Linked DNA regions of Homo sapiens: all the other regions are linked to region 5. Evidence: promoter capture Hi-C in 16 types of primary human blood cells and fetal thymus (Javierre and others, 2016). All regions are on one chromosome and are shown on one strand. Each heading gives the region's core, a stretch centred on a gene start or on the middle of the fragment in contact. The rest is flanking DNA. Distances are from core to core; before and after follow the strand shown. Region 1 overlaps APLF (aprataxin and PNKP like factor). Region 2 overlaps APLF (aprataxin and PNKP like factor). Region 3 has its middle 14 kb from the start of FBXO48. Region 4 overlaps APLF (aprataxin and PNKP like factor). Region 5 holds the start of BMP10 (bone morphogenetic protein 10). Region 6 overlaps APLF (aprataxin and PNKP like factor). Region 7 overlaps APLF (aprataxin and PNKP like factor).

The links. Contacts are between HindIII fragments. The CHiCAGO score rates a contact against its expected background, and 5 or more counts as called.
Region 1: a contact is called between a fragment that was not itself captured here and the fragment with the promoter of BMP10 in region 5, in 3 of 17 cell types (total CD8 T cells, naive CD8 T cells and naive CD4 T cells). The highest score is 5.9, in total CD8 T cells.
Region 2: a contact is called between a fragment that was not itself captured here and the fragment with the promoter of BMP10 in region 5, in 15 of 17 cell types (activated CD4 T cells, naive CD4 T cells, naive B cells and 12 more). The highest score is 14.6, in activated CD4 T cells.
Region 3: a contact is called between a fragment that was not itself captured here and the fragment with the promoter of BMP10 in region 5, in 10 of 17 cell types (activated CD4 T cells, naive CD4 T cells, M1 macrophages and 7 more). The highest score is 7.9, in activated CD4 T cells.
Region 4: a fragment that was not itself captured here is called in contact with the fragment with the promoter of BMP10 in region 5 in 7 of 17 cell types (naive B cells, total CD4 T cells, naive CD4 T cells and 4 more); the score reaches 9.6 in naive B cells.
Region 6: a contact is called between a fragment that was not itself captured here and the fragment with the promoter of BMP10 in region 5, in 7 of 17 cell types (M2 macrophages, naive B cells, total CD4 T cells and 4 more). The highest score is 6.6, in M2 macrophages.
Region 7: a fragment that was not itself captured here is called in contact with the fragment with the promoter of BMP10 in region 5 in 4 of 17 cell types (naive CD8 T cells, total B cells, total CD4 T cells and 1 more); the score reaches 6.9 in naive CD8 T cells.

What each region holds. Positions count from the first base shown.
Region 1 is chr2:68,579,181-68,582,105 of GRCh38, forward strand. It overlaps APLF (aprataxin and PNKP like factor), which reads left to right. Exons shown (of 10, transcript NM_173545.3): 10 at 1-982. Among named protein-coding and RNA genes, the nearest start is that of PROKR1, 63 kb to the right of the region's middle. The HindIII fragment of the contact is 600 bases long and covers 1,099-1,698 here.
Region 2 is chr2:68,487,264-68,490,066 of GRCh38, forward strand. All of the region lies in intron 1 of APLF (aprataxin and PNKP like factor), which reads left to right. Among named protein-coding and RNA genes, the nearest start is that of APLF, 21 kb to the left of the region's middle. The HindIII fragment of the contact is 1,449 bases long and covers 754-2,202 here.
Region 3 is chr2:68,451,623-68,454,322 of GRCh38, forward strand. No RefSeq gene overlaps it. Among named protein-coding and RNA genes, the nearest start is that of FBXO48, 14 kb to the right of the region's middle. The HindIII fragment of the contact is 539 bases long and covers 1,180-1,718 here.
Region 4 is chr2:68,504,050-68,506,749 of GRCh38, forward strand. All of the region lies in intron 3 of APLF (aprataxin and PNKP like factor), which reads left to right. Among named protein-coding and RNA genes, the nearest start is that of APLF, 38 kb to the left of the region's middle. The HindIII fragment of the contact is 2,210 bases long and covers 259-2,468 here.
Region 5 is chr2:68,869,881-68,872,848 of GRCh38, forward strand. It overlaps BMP10 (bone morphogenetic protein 10), which reads right to left and starts at 1,517. Exons shown (of 2, transcript NM_014482.3): 1 at 1,145-1,517. The coding sequence starts at 1,478. RefSeq lists a silencer at 1,333-1,493. The HindIII fragment of the contact is 2,140 bases long and covers 485-2,624 here.
Region 6 is chr2:68,469,652-68,472,546 of GRCh38, forward strand. All of the region lies in intron 1 of APLF (aprataxin and PNKP like factor), which reads left to right. Among named protein-coding and RNA genes, the nearest start is that of APLF, 3.5 kb to the left of the region's middle. The HindIII fragment of the contact is 2,738 bases long and covers 234-2,895 here.
Region 7 is chr2:68,544,964-68,547,663 of GRCh38, forward strand. APLF (aprataxin and PNKP like factor) reads left to right here. Exons shown (of 10, transcript NM_173545.3): 8 at 224-349. Among named protein-coding and RNA genes, the nearest start is that of APLF, 79 kb to the left of the region's middle. The HindIII fragment of the contact is 203 bases long and covers 1,317-1,519 here.

The sequences.
Region 1 (2,925 bases), core at 149-2,648, 290 kb before region 5:
CTCATTGCTTTAAAATATATCTCCCAGTAATTATACAATATTTAATATTTACTTAAACTGGAACAAGAATAAGATAAACATTTCTCTAGACTATAACCTATTATTCTGATTTTTATCTCTTATTGTTATTTGGGAACTATTTTTCCCCTTATAATGTCCCTTTAGCCTTGGTAGTATAACAAATCTACGAATGTAATATTTAACTTATTCTCATCCCTGCCACTAACTTAATCCTTGAAGTGTTACATAATCTACTCCTAGGTATATACCCAGAGGAATTGAAAACATTTCCACATAAAAACTGTACACAATGTCAATAGAAGCATTATTCTTAACAGCCAAAAAGTATAAACACCCAAAGTCTATCAACTATCAACTGGGTGAATGGATAAGCAAAACGTGGTATATCTGTGCAATGGAATATTATTTGGTCATAAAAAGGAATAAAGTACTGATACATGCTACAAGATAGATGAACCTTGAAGGCAAGTAAAAGAAGCCAGACACAAAAGGCCACATACTGTATGAACTCATTTATATGAAATTTCCAAAACAGGCAAATCCATAAAGACAGAAAGCAAATTTGTGGTTGCCAGGGACTTGGGGAGGAAGAATGGGGAGTGACTGCTAATGAGTATAGGATTTCCTTTTGAGTGATAAAAATGTTCTAAGATTAGATGGCAGTGATGGTTGCACAACTCTGTAAATATATTACAAACAATGCATTGTACACTTTCAAAGGGTAGATTTCATTGCACGTGAACTATATATTTCAATAAATCTGTCACAAAAAAGTAATGCAAAGGGTAATACCAGTCTTTTAGAAGGAAAAAAATATTTAATATCAAAGGATATTCTTCGTAGTAATGTAATAGTTCATGGTAGCTGCTTTTAACGATACAGTTTTAATGCAACTTTCATAATCATCCTGAAGACACTTTTGAGTATAACTATTGTATAAATAAATGTATAGCTTAATTGACTGAAGTGTAATGAAAATGAAAGTGTAATTGGACTGTGTTTAGATCTGTGTTTTCCAAAACAGAGGGAAAACCGGTAACATTAGGCTGTCAGTGGTCTCAAGAGCACCATTAACAAAGCTTGATTTTTTAAATTAATTGCTGTTCTATACAGTGGATAAGAGCCAATTCTCCCTGTCATGGTGTTCCTGGAACTGAAACTATATCCCAGCCTCCTCTGTCATGGTAAAAATTATCATATATACATTTCTCACCTATGTGCCTAATTTTAAAAGCAAATATTTTCTGGCTAAACTTTTGAGGGGGGATGGGTTTTCTAGGACCCTGGGAAACTGGAGACCTGAAGAGTTTTGGGGGACACTTGAACACTGACTTTGGTGTTTTCCCCTGGTTGAGGATGGCCCTATTGATACTGAGTTTCTAGAACTAGAGGATCCTAAACATTCATTGTAATGAAAGCAGATAGATTGTGAGCATAATTACTCCAGAATGTTGATGTAAAGCTGAGAGTAAATGGGTAGTTTCTTACAACTAATTGTTCAGTGTCACCAGCACACCTCACTGAGGGGGAAACTGTCCACCAGCACGCTGCATCCAGCCCTGCTCTGTGAGACCACCTCATTCCCATTCAGTCTCTTTGTTGGCCAGGAGTCCATAATGGTGTGTGCATGTGGGGGAGGGGGATCTTTTCCTGCCAATCTACAAACCTAGCCTACAAAGCTTCACCTCTACAATATGTACTGAAAGTAAAGTGATAAGGAATAATTATGATTGAGATTATTATTGGCCACCCTAATATAATGTACATAATAAACTTTATCATCATAAACAACCACATTTATACTCTGTTGTGCCCAAGATACTGTCTTAGGTGTCAGCAATTCAAAGAATAACATAGAGTCCCTATTTTCAATGTGCTTACTCTCTATTCTGGACAATAGGATATTTATTCATTCAGTGACAGTGACTACTAAATACCATGAAAGATACAAAAAAGAAAAAGAAATGGTATCTACAGTAAAAGATTTTACAAAGGCAATGAGGCAAGCATTCAAATAACATAGTGGATAGAATGGGACCAGTCAGAGAAGGAGAAGCTAGAGTGTAACAGAAATACCCCTCTGGCTGTATACTGAAGTATATACAGTCTCAGTCATGAGAAAATCTTGGTGTGATTGAGTTGCAGGATGAACTAACAGATTTTTTTATGGAACAAAATTTTTACTTGAAAGAATGACTGGCAGACATATTATGATTATTCAAACTTCAGTATTTGGCAGATGTTTTATCAAACATGAACTAAATGAGCCCTGTTTTCAAGGAAAACAACCAACAGTATTTGCTGTAATGCTGAAATTTGAGCTTTTAAGCAAAAATCAGAATTTTGGAAGAACTTGGATTCATCACCATTAGCTTGATAGCTTTTCAAAACTCTAAAAACTATTCTGATGATATTGTAGGTGATATGATATAATAAAATGTATCAATATTTGGAAGAGCTGCAAAACTTAGTAAGCCAACATTTTCCACATAACCAGTGTATGATGTTATAAAACCAGGCATGGGTAAGAGATCCAGTCAAAGTGTAAGATGAAGCAATGGACTTAATGTAACAGAGTCTGTTAAGTTCATTAATATGGTTTCAGATTCCATATTTCAACTAATCTTCCAGAAACTGCAATTTGTCTATTTTTGTGACATCAAGAAGAATATCCACCATTACCTGAAAAGCCTATTAAAATACTCCTTCCTTTTCAACTACATATCTGTGTAAGGCCTGGTTTGCTCCATGTACTTTAAGCAAAACAACATAGGAGAGCAGATACAGGAATCTACCTGTCTTCTAGAGAAGACAGACATTAAAGAGATTTGCAAAAATGTAAAACAATGCCATTCATCTGACTAAATTCTTTAAAATATATAATTATTTTTTATAAAATACATG
Region 2 (2,803 bases), core at 228-2,727, 380 kb before region 5:
TCTAGTTTGACAGTTAAACTGGGTAAATCATCTTAAAAACAGGTTTTGCTTTAGGTTTCATGTAATGATATTGAGGGATGCAATACAACGTTAAGAGCATGAATGGTTCTGGAATCTGATTCCTTAGGTTCAGATCCTGGCCCTACTACTTATTGGTTGTGTAACTGAGTAGTTGCTTAAACTCTCTGTACTTCCATTTTCTCACCTATGAAGTGAAGTATAATAATAGTATCTTCACAGATTTTGTGAAGACTGAAAAAGATGATACATGACAAGTCTAGAATGGTGCTTTGGTGTTGATAATTGATTGTTATTACAGTTGATGTATTAATAAATAATAAAAATGTGTTGGATATTCACTCTGTATAAGGAGCAGTGATAGGCTGTTAAATAAAGCAGATCATCAGATCTTTAGGATAATCTGTTTGTCACTTGCTCCCCACCCCTCTCCGTATATCAATCGTGACATTAAAATGTTTTAATGATAATTTATTAAACCTTTATGCTTCCCATTGAGAAAGTGCAAATGGTTATTTTATTGTGTATTCACTATTTAGGGTTTTACTTTAAAAGGAACACTATAAATGTCTGAGTGATGTTAATTTCAAAGATTGTTTATAGCATTCTTTTTGTATTCTATAAAGACACATAGCTTGTAATGAAATTACACTGTTGTGGAGTTATGTGTCCACTAGAGGTCACATTATACTTTTATATTACTTAAAATGTCTTTTATCTTCGTAGTGTCAGTGAAGCTTACTTCAAAGAAAGACAGAGATAGGAAAAGTTCATGTATTGCTTCCTGAAAAAATACAGTTTAAAAAAGGAAAGAAAGAAATTTAAGATGGACTGTTAAAGGAACCAGCTTTATATGCCATAGTTTTATATTTGATAGCTTATTACTCTGTTGGTTAGAAAATTGGTTCGTAGTATGGAAGTAACAATGAGATTTTGGTACCCAAGTCAGAAATAGGAACTGCTTACTCTCAGCCGCATTTTTTGAAATTACTTTTGAATGATTACATGTAGGTACAGTCATGTATAAATGTGTTCTACATTTATTATCTTTTTTTTTTTTTTTTTTTGAGGCAGGGTCTCACCGTGTCCCCCAGGCTGGCATGCAGTGGCACGATCATGGCTCATTGCAACCTTGACCTCCTGGGTTCAAGCAATCTTCATACCTCAGCCTCCCAAGTATTAATATTTGGGACTATAGGCACATGCCCTCTGTCCAGCTAATTTTTTACTTTATGTAGAGATGGGGGTCTCACTGTGTTGCCCAGGCTAGTCTTGAATTCCTGGGCTCAAGGAGTCTTCCCACTTCAGCCTCCCAAAGTGCTGGGATTGCAGCCACCACACCCTGCCTATTACCTATTTTTATTAAAAGGAGTGTGGATTTGGAGTGCTGCCTACTTGGAGAGTGACCTACCCAAGTTACCTAAATTCTCTGGACTTTCAATTTCTATGTAAAGTGTTAATAATAGCTATGGCAATGTTATGTTGAATCACAACATTTAAGTGAAAGTTCTGTGCAAATGATGCAATGAGTCATCAGATAACTGCTGTTGTTTTTAGCCTACTAAGGTACAATCTGATATACCTAATGCTAAATGACGAGTTATTGGGTACAGCACACCAGCATGGCACATGTATACATATGTAACTAACCTGCACATTGTGCACATGTACCCTAAAACTTAAAGTATAATAATAAAAAAAAAGGTACAATCTGGGAAAAAGAAAGGAATCTTTAAATTTTTAGCCTCTTTTTTTCTGAAACAATAGATTATTAGTTTGTACTTACTTCTTGGATAGCCATTGTGGCTAACAATAGATTGTGAAAAATTCATTCATGTGATACTCATTCCGATGCTTGATATTACTGTCTATATGTTACAGCCTTAAGTGTGGAACAGCTATCTGGTTAAAAAAATGAGTACTGACTCCTGGCAGTTTCACATTTTTTGTGGAACTAATAGGTTTAATTGAGTTTATGTGTTGGTATGGTCTATTTTTTACTGATAATTTTGGTCCTTATGCGGATAATGCCAACATTCAAGTGCTGAATATCAAGGTTACCAAGAGATGGGTCAGGTAGTTATGGTGTTATTGAAGTTGGTGCTTAACATGTTTTCATTATCTATCAATCAACCACAAATAAAAAAGGCAATCTTAACTATTGTATTTACAGTGAAAAGGGAAAGCTTTGATTGGCACTGTCAGCATTTAACATGCAAACAATTTTTGAACTTTGGTATGTGGAAATGATTGTGAGCCTAAGTAGAACACTGTTGGCTCAAAACAGGAAGCAAATAGATATTTTTAAAAAATGCTAATTTATTTCTTACTGAAAATGTTTGGTTTTCACTATTCCCCTTCTTGCCTTCCTGAACTCTTAACTGCTGCTGATGGCCCCAGAGTTTGCATGCAGTTCTGCCTGATCTGGGTCTCTTTGACCCCAAAGCCTATAGTCAGACCCTTTTACACTTACCAGATCCTCGAGCATGGGATCTCTTCCTTTTAAAACCTTTATCATCATGACATACTATATGTTTCTTGTATTTGAAATGTTTTCTGGTAAGTACATATTATATACAGACTTTTCGTATTTTATGAATTTTCTTGGTAAGAATCCCCAGTAGATGTCTGTCATGAATGGAAACTATCATGCAAGGTTTTGGGATCCGTTAGATTCTAGGCTTGAGGCTCTGTTGTTGACTCTTCCATGACTTTGGGCAGGTTTTTTTAATCTCATTATTTGTTAAATGAGGACAATCATTTCAATATACAGTTGTTGAATGAA
Region 3 (2,700 bases), core at 199-2,698, 420 kb before region 5:
ATATATATTATATATAAAATGTATATTATATATATTATATATAAAATGTATATTATATATATTATATATAAAATGTATATTATATATATTATATATAAAATGTATATTATGTATATTATATATAATGTATATTATGTATATTATATATAATGTATATTATATATAATATATATTATATATAATGTATATTATATAATATATATTATATATTATAATATATAATATACATTATATATTACATATTATATATAATATATTATATATTATATATTACATATTATATATAATATATTATATATTATATTAAATATATATTTTATATATTATATATTATATATTATATAAAATATATATATTATATATTATATAAAATATATATATATTATATTATATATTATATTAAATATATATTTTATATATAATATATATAATATATAATATATAAAATATATATTATATATTATATATAAATTATATATATTATATATAAAATATATAATATATATTATATATAAATATACATATTATAGATATCTATTCTTTATCCACTCTTCTTGGTTGATGGACATTTAGGTGTTTTTTTAAAATGTAGTATAAACCAGTAGTTCCTAACAAGAGGGATTTTCCCCCAGGAGACATTTGGCAATGTCTGGCGACATTTTTGGTTGCCAGCACTTGGGAAGTGGTGCTACTGGCATCTAATGAATAGAGGCCAGCGGTGCTGCTAAACATTCTACAGTGTATACGACAGCACCCCTGCCCCTCCCCCAAACAAAGAATTATCCAGCCCAGAATGTTAATAGTGATAAAGTTTAGGGACCTGGTATAGACAGAGATAAAGCACACATGGTTAAAGTTAACAATTGGTTAATCTAGGTGATGATGCCATATTCTAGACTTTGAAATTTTTTGTAAGAGTGAAAACTTTCAAAATAAAACATTTAGGGAGAAAGCACGTTTAAAAATATATAATAAAAGTCTGAGAGAGAAAAAAAAAAGTTGAACTGATGAAAAAAGTAGGCCATACACAGGAAAACAATGGCAAAAGCAGTCCTTTTTATTTTCTTCACTAACCAATGAGAATAAAGACAGGAAATTGTGCTCAATCTACTTGTTAGGCAACAAAAAAACACAACCACAGCAATAAGTGGGGGAGATTCTCACGTGTGATTTTTAGAAAGCTTCTTTTATGGTTTTACATATTTTCTATCAGGATTTCATTGTGTGACAAATGGACTGTATAATTTTGTCATATTAAAAGTAAATCAAAATGAGCAAACTGGGAAACCAGCAGCTGGGTTTTTTTCCCCTACAAGGCACAGAAGACCCATAGCAGAAAAGTAGGCCTCAGAAAATGATTATTAAAAATTTCTTTTGGGCCAGAACAGTGGTTCATGCTTGTAATTCCAGCACTTTGGGAGGTTGAGGGGAGAGGATTGCTTGAGCTCAGGAGTTCGAGGCCAGCCTGGGCAACATAGTGAGACCCAGTCTCTAAAAATAAATAACTAAATTAATTAATTAAGAAAAATTTTTTCTTGAGCAGTTAATGTTTATGATAATACAGTATGATTGGTGTGGTACTTGTAAAACTGCAGTTTTATCTTTTTTTATTTCCATCCGGCCCTGACTGGGTAAGGACAAGGAGGTATTGGAAAATGCAAACAGGTTCATGAAAAAAGTCAGTTTTACTTGTGGTAGAACTCAATATAAGGATGTCAAGCTTTTATTAGAAACCCAACCCGCATGCCTTGTTTATTACCTTCTTCTGTCTCAGCTGTTCTTTATAGTTTTTACTCTTTCTTCCTTTTCCAGCATTATTTTATTGTGTAGAGTAATACTAGAATGGGTTGTTTTTTTTTTGTAATACATTCCGCTGTATTTTCCATGCCCAGTAATTCTTATTTCTCTGCAGCTCTCTGCCTGGAAAGACAGGCATCCAGTGCTTTGTGGGTCTGGTAGGTACAGCCGAGAATAAAGAAGTCAGAACTCAGCTTTGAATTTCAAAAGACTTTTTTCAAGCATAGAAGACTCAGAAGTCTTAACTGCTAGGCTTTCAACTGAGAAACGAAAATAAAATCCAAAGGTCCCCCCTGCAACTGACTAAAAGGACTCCCCTCTTGGCTAAGGAGATCCTAGAGAAATCTTAAAAGCTGAATTCCCAGCCATGATGGATTGGGAGGTCAGACATGCCCTGTTATACTCCCTCCCTTGCTACTTGCCATTATACTTCCACTCCTAAGTGTTAAACAGAAACAGGCCCTTTCTGAAGACTTGCTGGACTCTTCTTCCTTTTTGCAGTTTGACACAACAACTGACCATCATTCCTTCCTGATAAGAGGCCACTAACCATGGACTGGTTCTGGCCGGTTTACAGAAGCTGCACACAGGATGCTTCTGTGTCCTCTGTTTCAGCTTTTGACGTATAGAGCCTAATTTTAATACATTTAAATGTTAAGTTTCCATCCTAAAGTGAACATAGGATGTAGGTAACATACATGTTAGCTTGCTGTGCATGAGTGCACTCCCCTTTTGTGAATATTCATAGCTCCTCCTATAGCCTGTTAAATGTATATACTTAGCTGACCCTTTCAGCCTAAATTCCTGTCTTACCCTTCCCTCCCTAGAAGTACCTGCTTCTGGTTTCTGCCAGAAGCTACCCTTCCCAGGCTGTGGGATGGCCAGCCTGCAGGCTGCAACCCT
Region 4 (2,700 bases), core at 114-2,613, 370 kb before region 5:
TATTACGTAAAACTTTATGCCAATAAATTTGGCAGTTAAAATGAATGGGTACATTTCTTAAAAAACAAAACTGATGCAGGAAAAATAGAAATCTGATGAATTCTATATTCATTTTAAAAATTGAATTCATAATTTAAGTATTTCCCATAAGGATCTTCACTAATGAATTCTATTAAACTTACAAGGAAGAAATAATGCCAATATTATTCTTTTTTCTCAAAAAATAAAAGAAGATATACTTCCCAACTCATTTTATGAAGCTTCTGTAATTTAGAAACTAAAATCAGACAAGATTTTACAAAAAACCCTCAAAACTACAGACCAATATTCCTCATAATAAAGTATTTACAAATCAAATCCAGCAATATGTAAAAAGGATAATACTCTATTACCAAGTGGGGCTTGTCCAAGGGATACAAGGTTAGTTTATCGTATAAAAATCGAAGCAATTCACCATAACAGACTAAAGAACTATCATTTTAATAGATGCTCAAAAATAATTTTGACAAAATTCAACACCTCTTCATGATTTTTAAAAGTTTTGAGAAAACAAGAAAAAGAAGGAAACTTTTTTCCTACAAAAAACCTATTAGTGAAATGTTGAAAGTTCTTCCCCTAAGATTGGGAATACAACAAAGATAAAATATATCAGATTTGAAAGGAAGAAGTAAAACTGTGTTTATTTGCAGATGACATGATTTGTATTTAGAAAATCCTTAGTAATCTACCAAAAAGAAAAGCAAGCCACAAAAGTGTCTATTATATGATTACATTTATATTAAGTTCTGTAATAAGTAAACTAATCTGTTAAATAGAAATGTAATCAATGGTTGTTTCCAAGGGGATTGACTAGTAAGAAGCTACAAAGGAGCTTTTTGTTTGGCTTTGTTTCAGCTTTTAAACAAATATGGACATATTCTGTGTCTTGTTAAGGGTGCAGATTATGTGGGTGTACGCATTTGTCAAAACTAATCAAATTTCACACTTCAGATATGTGCATTTCATATATAAATTATATCTAAAAATGCTTAAATGTAAGTGGAAAAAAATGTCAGGAAGTTGCTTTTTAGTTAAATGAAATTCATTAATCATTGCTTACTACTTTAAAGTACATGTCTTTTTCTCTTATCATACATGTATGAAGCGTGCTATTTAAACTAGCTGTTGAAATGAGACATGTAAAGAACTGATTTTTTTGTTACAATAAACTTTCATAATAGAATTACATACTTTTTTCAAAAATTAGGAAAATGTGCATCCTTATGAAACACAATATGGTCATTACCTGATAACTTATTTAAGCTATTATATGTCTATTTAAATTTCATTTATATTGATTCAAATTAGCTTATTCCCTTAGTGTGAAAGACCAGTGTCTTTAGGGCAAGTGTCACACTTTAAATTTATCAGGTTATGGGATTAGTGAATTTTGAATTTTTTCGTATTGATGAAACTGAAAATAAACCCACTTTCACAGCACTGTACTTTTCTCAGGCTATTTAAACCTTGGGTTCTGTCATTTGCTAGAAGGGCTCACAGAACTCAGGAACAGTTTACTTACTAGATTACGGATTTATTACAAGTGCTATATTACAGGATACAAATTAACAGCCAGATGAGAAGATACATAGGGTGAGGTCTGGAAGGATCCCCAGCACAGGAGCTTCTGTTCCAGTGGAGTGTTGGGGTACACCACTCTCCCAGCACATGGACATGTTCTTGTTCACCAACCTGGAAGTCCTCTGAACTTTGTCTTTTTGGGTTTTTATGGAGGCTTCATTACAAAGGCATGATTGAGTAAATCATTGACCAGTATGATTAAGTCAATCTCCAGCCCCTTTTCCCTCCCTGGTGGTGAGGCTGGGAGTTCCTACCCTCTAATCATGATTGGTTTTCCTAACAACCAGCCCTTCATCTTTAGAGGCTTTCCAAAAGTCACCTCATTAACATACATTCAGGTGTGGTTGAAAGGGGTATATTGTGAATAACAAAAGACGCTCCTTTCACCTGTTTCAGAGCTCTAGCCAGGAACCAGAAGTGAAGACCAAAATATGTATTTCTTACTATATCATACCATCACAGGCACATTCTTGTGGTTTCTGCCATTAGCTAGGTCCTGTAGCTTCTTAGTGAATATTTAGTTTCCTATTGAAGCAAGGACAGTACTTCTGTAGTCAGGTAATGATGAGTTAACCCTAGTTATTAGATTAGAAGCCATGAGGGGAGGTGGGGGCAGATCTTGAATTGCAGTATCATCATGAGAGATGTCTACCCGGGGGAGGCAGCTGCCTGATTTCCAGAGAGGGAGAGTCCACTGTCTGCTAGCAAGGGGAAGTGGACTATGTATTAGATAGGAAGCATTGAAATACACTTCTAGACGTTTCTTGATATCGTTGGGGTTTTCCTGTTTTTGAACTAGCTCTGTTTTGCAGGGTCAACCACATAAAAACACTGCTTACTGTTGTACAAGCTTTACATGTATGAACTTTTTATTCTCCATAATAATCTCTATGAGGACTAGGTATTGTTAATATCCCTATATGACAGATGAAGAAATTGGGACACAGAAGGTTTAAGACTTGCCCAAGGTCACAGCTTAATACATGGCAGAGGTGGGATCCAAACTCAAGCCAGCTGTTTCCAGAGTTGATGCTCTTACTAACTACCCTCTGCTGTATGAGAATGTTTACTATAGCACTC
Region 5 (2,968 bases), core at 267-2,766:
TCAGCACTTCATAGTAAATGGAGTGCTTTCTTATCTGTAACCTCCTTTGAGTCACTCAACTATGTTATGTAGGTATTATTACTCCCACTTTATAGATGAGGAAATTGAGGCTCTGAGGCATCAGCTAATTATTCACAACCACTAAGCCAACTAGCTCTCAAAATCCCAAATCCTGAGCTATTTCTTCACTATTACCTTTCTTCTTTCAAGAACATCTGGCCAATATTAACGGGAAGCTTCTTTTATACCTGGTTAGTGACTATAAAAGCATAACTGGCAAAAATTAAATTAGTTCCTTTGGACCTTCAGCTTCTACTATAGATATCTAGATATCAGGGGTTTTTTTTCCTACTAGGACCATATTAACCAAAAAACAAACAAACAAACAAACAAACAAAAACATTAACTTGCTAGCTCATTAGATTTAGTTACCAAATTTAAAGACCTAAGAGAAGAAAACACACTTTTCCCACCAATAATTCAAAGCTTGTACGTTGCTCTTTATAAAGACGGAAATGATGAGCTGGATGATTAATGGGCCATCTACACTTCCTGGAAACTGTAAACAGTGCTTTAAGGATGTACATGACACATCAAACAACACAGCCTTAGGAAGAATCTTTAAAATATATTTCCATCCTGTTTGAACATTTCTTAAATAAGGTCACAAAATAAAAACTTATCAAAAGTTTGAACAAAACACAAATCACAATTTGATGTTTTTTGACTGTTTTTACCCTTTTTATTCTAAGTAGAAGTTGAGAAATTTTTTAGTTAATTAAAAGCCCATATGGCAATCAAGGCCTATTTGGAAAATGACAAAGGTACGGCAGTAGACCAACATTAATTCTTTGTATTACTTGGTGTTCAAATTAACATTTTTTAAAAGGACCCAATTATGATGTCAAATTGATAGATGTTTTGTGGCTTTGGATTAAAAGATGTTTGTAAGTATTTTTCGAGGTTCCTGAAATGACTATATAATTGGTATAGAACAAAATGTGCCTTGTTTTTGTGTATCCATATGTATTTAACATCCTTATATAGATGTATTTACCCTTACCTATATCATTCCCATGCATTGTAAATTTACTTATTGTGTCTTGAAAAAAATCCTAGCAAAATTTCATCAGCAAAAACTTACCTTCATTCTTGAAACTCCTAATGATGTTGGCAGAGGGCATGGAGGTCCGATCTGTTGCAAATTTGTTGTAGAGTTCCAACATGTACTCTGGTGGGTCCACCTTGGCTGAATCCTGCGTGGGGATGTCAGAGAGGTTTAGTGTCTTAAGAAACTCATCCTTCATGCTCTGGAGCAGTGTGTTAAAGTCGACACCGTCTTGCTCTGAGAAAACATCACCAAAGAGGGACATATCTTCTTCCAGAGGAGACTGCTCTAGGTTCATGATGGGGCTGCCAGAAACCAAGTAAGCTGCCAGGCAGAAAAGAGCGCACAGTGTCAGGACCAGAGAGCCCATGACTCCGCTCGAGCTCCTAGGCCAAGCCAGGAAGGTTTAGCTTCCCTGGGCTCTAAGTGGCAGTTTTATCTTGTGGAACGTAAATGTCTCCTGTCACTGGAGACAAGTTTGGAAACTCTTCCTCTCTCTCTCCCTCCCCCTACCACTCTTCCTCTCCCCCTAAAAGTCAGGTTGCAGTAATTGGATAACAAAATCCCCTATAGGGGCCTAGCCTTTCTTATCTCCCTAGTGTAAACTTGTGCACCAGAATTTGTTTCTATCTTGCAATCCCTATTTCTTTTAATGAGCATTTTGTAAACATTTCCACATTCTGACACTGGTTGAGAGATAGGACAATTTTCTCTTTGCAAAGGCTCTGCTTCTCTTCCCTTCAATTCACTTCCTTTCAGCAGGAATGCCTAAATTCTGTTTTTATGGGGCTTAGTTTCACACATGCATATAATAGGTATAAGAATCAACATAATGCACATCAATGGTGATACATGTTAATTTGAGAGGTAGGGCTCAGATAAACACTTGTGAAGACAGACCAAATATCCAAACTTTCCAAGTTTAAGTTAATAGCTATAAATGAATTATATAAATTTTTAGAAGTGTACCTTTTTAGAAACAGGAAAGTATAAACTTCATGATTGACAGGCTTTTTCCTACCTATTTGATCTGGCTAAAATAGCATTTGAAAAATAGGGCAAGTGCTTAGTTATACTGGCAACTAGAATTTATTAGATGCTTCCTACAAACAGGCATTGTACTGAGTGCTTTACACCTATCATCAAGTGTGCTCCTGTAATAACCGTATCATTATCTCCATCACATATATGGGTCAGTGAAGTGCCATAGCTTGCCAGAGGCCACAAAGTTGCAAAGTGATGGGGCCACAATTTCAACCAAGGCAGCCTGATTCTTATGAAGAATAAAACAGTCACACTTTTAAACCACTCTTCTACCAGACTAGGGCATGGGCAATAATGCTGAGAGGCCAACACGTCCCCAGATCAGCCTGGAGGCAGGAGGCAGGCAGAAATTTGTAGCTGGATGTGGACCTCAGGTCCTCCATCTGTGCAATGAGTTGTTAATATAACCAACATCTCTGCGAAATTCATCCTTCTGACTCAATCAAAATTGTCATCAAGAGGCTCCAGCAAAAGCTTGGTGTGATGGTTAATACTTACTGTCAACTTGATTGGATTGCAGGATGCAAAGTATTGATCCCGGGTGTGTCTGTGAGGGTGTTGCCAAAGGAGATTAACATTTGAATCAGTGGGCTGGGAAAGGTAGACCCACCCTTAATCTAGCTAGGCACCATCTAATCAGCCGCCAGCACGGTTAGAATATAAAGCAGGCAGAAAAACGTGAAAAGACGAGACTGGCCTAGACTTTCAGCCTATCTTTCTCCCATGCTGGATGCTTCCTGTCCTTGAATATGGGACTCCAAGTTCTTCAGTCGGGGAACTTGGACTGGCTCTCCTCGATCCTTAGCTTGCAGACAG
Region 6 (2,895 bases), core at 353-2,852, 400 kb before region 5:
TTTGGAGCTGACAGATGCACTCGATTCTTCTCTGCACTGGTTAAAACACAACATAAGGGCTCCTGTTTCCAACAACAGCAATTCCAGTGAGATTTATTTTTGTATTGTGAGAGAGCGAAGACTGAGTTCTAAGTGGAAAACTCAGTAAGTTCATTGTAAATTGGAATCGGAAACGATTAATATAAATAAGGATGATTTTGAACTTTCTTAATTGGGCATGTTTTTCTGAGACAAGCTTCACAAACCTTGATGGCCACACAAACATAAAAGTTTATAATCTGACTGTGTAAAATAGTCTTGGTAGTAAAACAGTTTGACAATGAGAATGGTTTTGTATTTTTATGGTGGTAGGAAAACACAACAGAGAAACCTGTCACAGAGAACAAAGGACAATGAAATTTAATCTTTCTTGTTCCCTTTGCTTTCATGTGAGTCATCAGAGAACCCCAGGTCTTTGTTTACTAGATTTTGATTCTGCTCCATGATTGGCATCAGTTAGAAGGTTTTACAGCAGGATTAATCTTCAGAGAACTTGAGTTAAAACAGCCAATCCAAAAGATTACATATTGTGTGATTCCATTTATATAACATCATTGAAATTGCGAAATTGCAAAATTTCAAAAATGGAGAACAGATTAGTGGTTGCCAAAGGTTAAAAAATTAGGCAGCAGGGCAGAAGGGAATGGATATGGCTATAAAATAGCAACATGAGGGATATTTGTGGTGATAGAAATGTGCTTTGTCTGGACTGTGTCAGTATCAATATCTTAGGTTGATATATTGTACTATAGTTTTGTAAGACGTTACCATTAGGGGAAACTGGATAAATGGTACAAGAGATATTTCTATATTATATCTTTCAACTACATGTGAATCTACCATTATCTTAAGAAATTTAATTTAAAAGGGTTTTACAGTACGACATGTCAAGCACTGTTAGGCCAAAGTATTTGCTTTATGGGTTTTAATTAAAGCTGTTACACTCTTAAATGAAATCTACTATTTCTGATTTCAGATTTTTCTTATTTTGTTTTGACAGCAGGGATTATATGACACATTTCTTTATGATCTATTTTCCTCCTAGGAAACAAGATAGCAAAAGATATCTAGTGATACTTTCTCAATGTAGATGTAATTAAATTGACTGCTTTGATTAAAAGGAGAAGAGTCCTCAGTTGGGGGAACAGGGAAGGTCATAGGCTTCAGTATAGACTCTTCAGGTGGCATCAGTTCACCACTTCTAAGAATGTTGTAAATGTTCTACAAAGTTTACACAAAGTAACCATCCCCTGACCTGGCAGCTCTATACTTTTAACTGCTTGTTGCAGAATCCTGGCTGTCCTGGAATGCTGTTCCTACCTGCTCCAACATAGGTTTCTTCCCTTACGTTTCTTTTATTTCTAGATTTGCCCTTCCCTCATTTTATTATTTAGCCTACAACCAGTGCCTAGCACACAGTAGGCCTTTAACACGTGATTTCTTCCTTCCATTTCGGCATCTCAGCCTCTCATTCACTCTACCCTCAAAAAGAGCCTAATTGTGACTTAGATATGAAAAAGGGTTATCATTGAGTTTTGAAGTGAATTTAAATATAGTAAAGATGCAGTCCTACCAACTGCTAAATCTTGAGTAGCATTCATAATGAATTAAGTTTTAACATTTTTCCTGTTTTGTTGATTGATAATTCGCTAAATTCAGGAAATAGCTGATAAATATATACTATGGTTGGATGGGAGGGAGTATAGGAGAAATAAAGGTGAATGAGAAACAAGTCTTTGCTCTCAAGAAACTTATAGTTTTGTAGGGTTAAGAGACAAATAAACAAGTATTAGTAACTAAATAAGGCTACAACCTCACATGGGGACTGGCGCCAGGCTGACACTTGGAGTAAGCGAAGTGGGAGGGAAGAAGAAAAACAACACAGGGACAGTGATAAATGACAACAGTTCTGCCTCAGTGTTGGGAAGGCCACAAGGAGAGGGTCTCTATGCAATCCCTGCTACTTTCCCCTATTCCCAGTTGGTAACAGTGTCATATTGTTTTTTTAAGAATAGTAAGAAATTTGAATTTTTAGATATAATCACTGATTTTTAAAAGGTCACATTTTTATTAAAAGTTTTGGTTAAATACCATGAGTCTGTTGATGAAGAGTTAAATTCTATAAAATATTTCAAGAGATTTATTCTGAGCCAAATATGAGTGACCATGGCCCGTGACACAGCCCTCAGGAGGTCCTGAGAGCATGTTCCCAAGATGGTCAGGGTACAGCTTGGTTTTTATATATTTTAGGGAGGCATGAGACATCAATCAAATACATTTAAGAAATACATTGGTTTGGTTCAGAAAGGCAGGACAACCCAAAGCAGGGGCTTCCAGGCTATAGGTAAATTTAAACATTTTCTGGTTGACAATTAGTTGAGTTTATCTCAAGACCTAAGATCAAAGGAAATGTTCAGGTTAAGATAAAGGATTGTGGAGACGAAGTTTTATTTTGCAGAGCTCTCAGATAGCGGACTTCAGAGATAGCAGGTTGTAAAATGTTTCTTATGAGACCTGAAAGAGTGCCTGGCTCTTAATTGATTATCTCCTGGATCTGGAAAGGAAGGAAGGAAAACAAAGGGGAAAGGGAATTCTCTATAGAATGTGGGTTTTTCCCACAAGAGACTTTGCAGGACAGTTCCAAGGTATGGCAAAGAAATATATTTTAGGGTAAAACATTTTGATTTTCTTCCTTGTTATGCCTGAGTCAGACTGGAAAGTAAGTCACGTTATACAGGGTTAAATAAAACTCATCTGATGAGAATTTATGGTTTGTAGGGCATGACTCCCCAGACCCCTTAGAAAGGAATTTGGGCAAGATAAAAAAAAATAATAATCAGAGCTTAGTCCTCAAGC
Region 7 (2,700 bases), core at 168-2,667, 330 kb before region 5:
AAATGTAGTATGTTACTGTGAGAGTCCTGTACTGAGTTTATGTCATCAACTTTATGTCATCAATTTAGCATGTTGATGTAATCTGCGCTTATGTCATCAATGTAGCATGTTGGTTTATGTTCAAGGATAGCCAGATGTGGATTGTCTGGTTTCCTGCTATATCCACTAAAAATCTAGAATATCCTATTTTTTTTTTCTGACAGTATATTTGTCGCCCTCCTAGGAAGAATCCTGTTCATTTTCAACATTTTAGCCATCCTGGTGATAGTGATTATGGAGGTGTACAAATCGTGGGCCAAGATGAGACTGATGACCGGCCTGAATGTCCCTATGGACCATCCTGTTATAGGTATAGAAACTGAATGTTTGGCTGCACTCCTTTTCTTTCTTATCTCTGTTACTTATCTAGGAGAAACTGACAGCAGCTTGTTATCTCAAGCCTTTTAATTTTCATTTTTAAACTTCTGTAGATTACAGGTTTTCATGTTGGTAATAGGTAGGATGATATTTCTTTTAGCTAATTCTGAATTACTGAAGTTACACATCTACGAGTGCCTGAAATTTTTCCTTATTTCCAACTTTCTGTAATGCAAATTAGATCACTTAAAAGCTGTTGATGCTACCCCAATATACACTTAATTCACTCTGTATGTCCTAGGTGTGACATATAAATCTATTTGGGATGTTATCTCTGCATCCCTCTGCTTCCTCAACTTTTACTACTCCACTATTCTTGCCAACACAGAAAGTCCAATCCTAAAGGAAGAGTAAGAATACTTCTCCTCTCAGTTTTCATGGCATCTTGTCCTTGTCCGTATCATGCACAGAGTAGGATTTATCTCATGAGATTATGTTTGTTTCTTTATCAGAACATCTTTTCCTACAGGCAGCAAGTATCTTGACAGCAAGGACTCTCATCTTTGTATCTTGCAACTTTGCTTAATAGATGAATGAACTTGAAATGAAACAAACTATCAAAGAAAAAAGTAGTGATTTCAGCTTTACAGAGCTTTAATTCCAGACAGCCATCTTTCTTAGATAATTTTAAATACAGATTGCTGAACCTACTGGGCTATTTGAAGTTGTTTCTATTTCTGTGATTGTGGTTTTCAATGAGAAGGCAAAGTAAGTTTCTAGGACCAGAAAGGAGAATGACTTATACTTTTTTTGAAAGGTAAGTGTTCATTATAATCAACTTTACCAATAAACTTGAAAATTTTTGGAGAAATTAACAAATTCCTAGAAAAATACAACTTTAAGAAACAGATACAATCAAAAATTGAGTTAATATAAGAGAAATTGAATATATAATTTAAAGCTTTCCACAAAGAAGTGATAGATCTGTTTGGTTTTAATGGCAGGTTCTAACAAACATTTAAAGAAGAAGCACTTCATTTTTACACAGACTACTCCAAAGAAAGTAAAAGAGGGTGTATTTCCCAATTCATGATGTGAGACCAGCACAAGTTTGATACCAAAACCCAGCAAGAATAATACAAGAATGAAAAATTATAGGATAAGCTTACTTTTGAACATAGTTGTAAATATCCTGAGGGGAGAAAAGTTATGAGAATCAAGTGATAAATAAAAAGGAAAATATAATATGACCAAATAGGGTCTATCTAAGGAATGCATGTTTTAATGTTAAAAAATAAATTCATTTACCATGTCATCAGAATAAGTAGAAAAGCCATCTCCATAGATGATTGGAAAGAAAAAAACCTGACAAACCAAAATCAGCATTCATTTATGAAAAAAACTTGTTATAAAGTAAGAATAGAAGGGAACTTCTTTAATATCAAAAAGAATATCTACAAAAAATTTATAGCAAATATTATACTTAAAATATTAAAAATTTCCTTTCTGAAATCAGAACTGAGACAAGAATGCCTGTTATTACCACTTCAGTTCATCATTATGTGGCGATTCAAGACAGTATACTAAGACAAGAAAAGGAAAATGGATAAGGATTGCAAAGGAAGAAATAAAACTTTGTGTTAACAGATGGTATTATTGTATATGCAGTAAATACAAAGTGGCCCACTGATGAGTTATAAATTTAGTAAGTGCTTAGGATGCTTACTGGATACAAAAATCAATATATAAAACCAATTGTATTTGTATATTCCAGCATTAACCGGTAAGAAAATAAAATTTTTTAAAGATTATAACATCAAAAAGTAAAGAGTCCTTAGGAATAAATATAAAAGGCGTAGAAACCTCTATGAAGAAAACTATAAAACTTTAAATGTAAAAATGAGAAAATGTTTTTCAGAAAGACCTAAATAATTATGAAGATCAAAATGTTCATGATTGAATTATTCAGTAGTGTCAAAATACCAGTTTTCCTCAAATGGATTTGTATACAAACTGATTCAAAATCATATTAGCTTTTATAAAGAAATTTACAATGTGATTCTAAAATGTATATGGATTACAAAGGATAAAAATAGCCATGACAATCGTACATAATGAAGAATAGGTGGCAGGATGTGTTATACTTTATAGTTACTAAAGCAGTGTGGTATGGGCACAAAGATAAAGTAACATGACCAGAACAGAATGGTACTTCAAAATAGGCTTATATATGTAAGGTGACATATTTATGAAAAGGGACGTTGCAGGTATTGAGAAAAATGAATTTTTTCAATTAATTATAAGGGGATAAGTAGATATTCATCTGAAGAAAAAATAAAATTT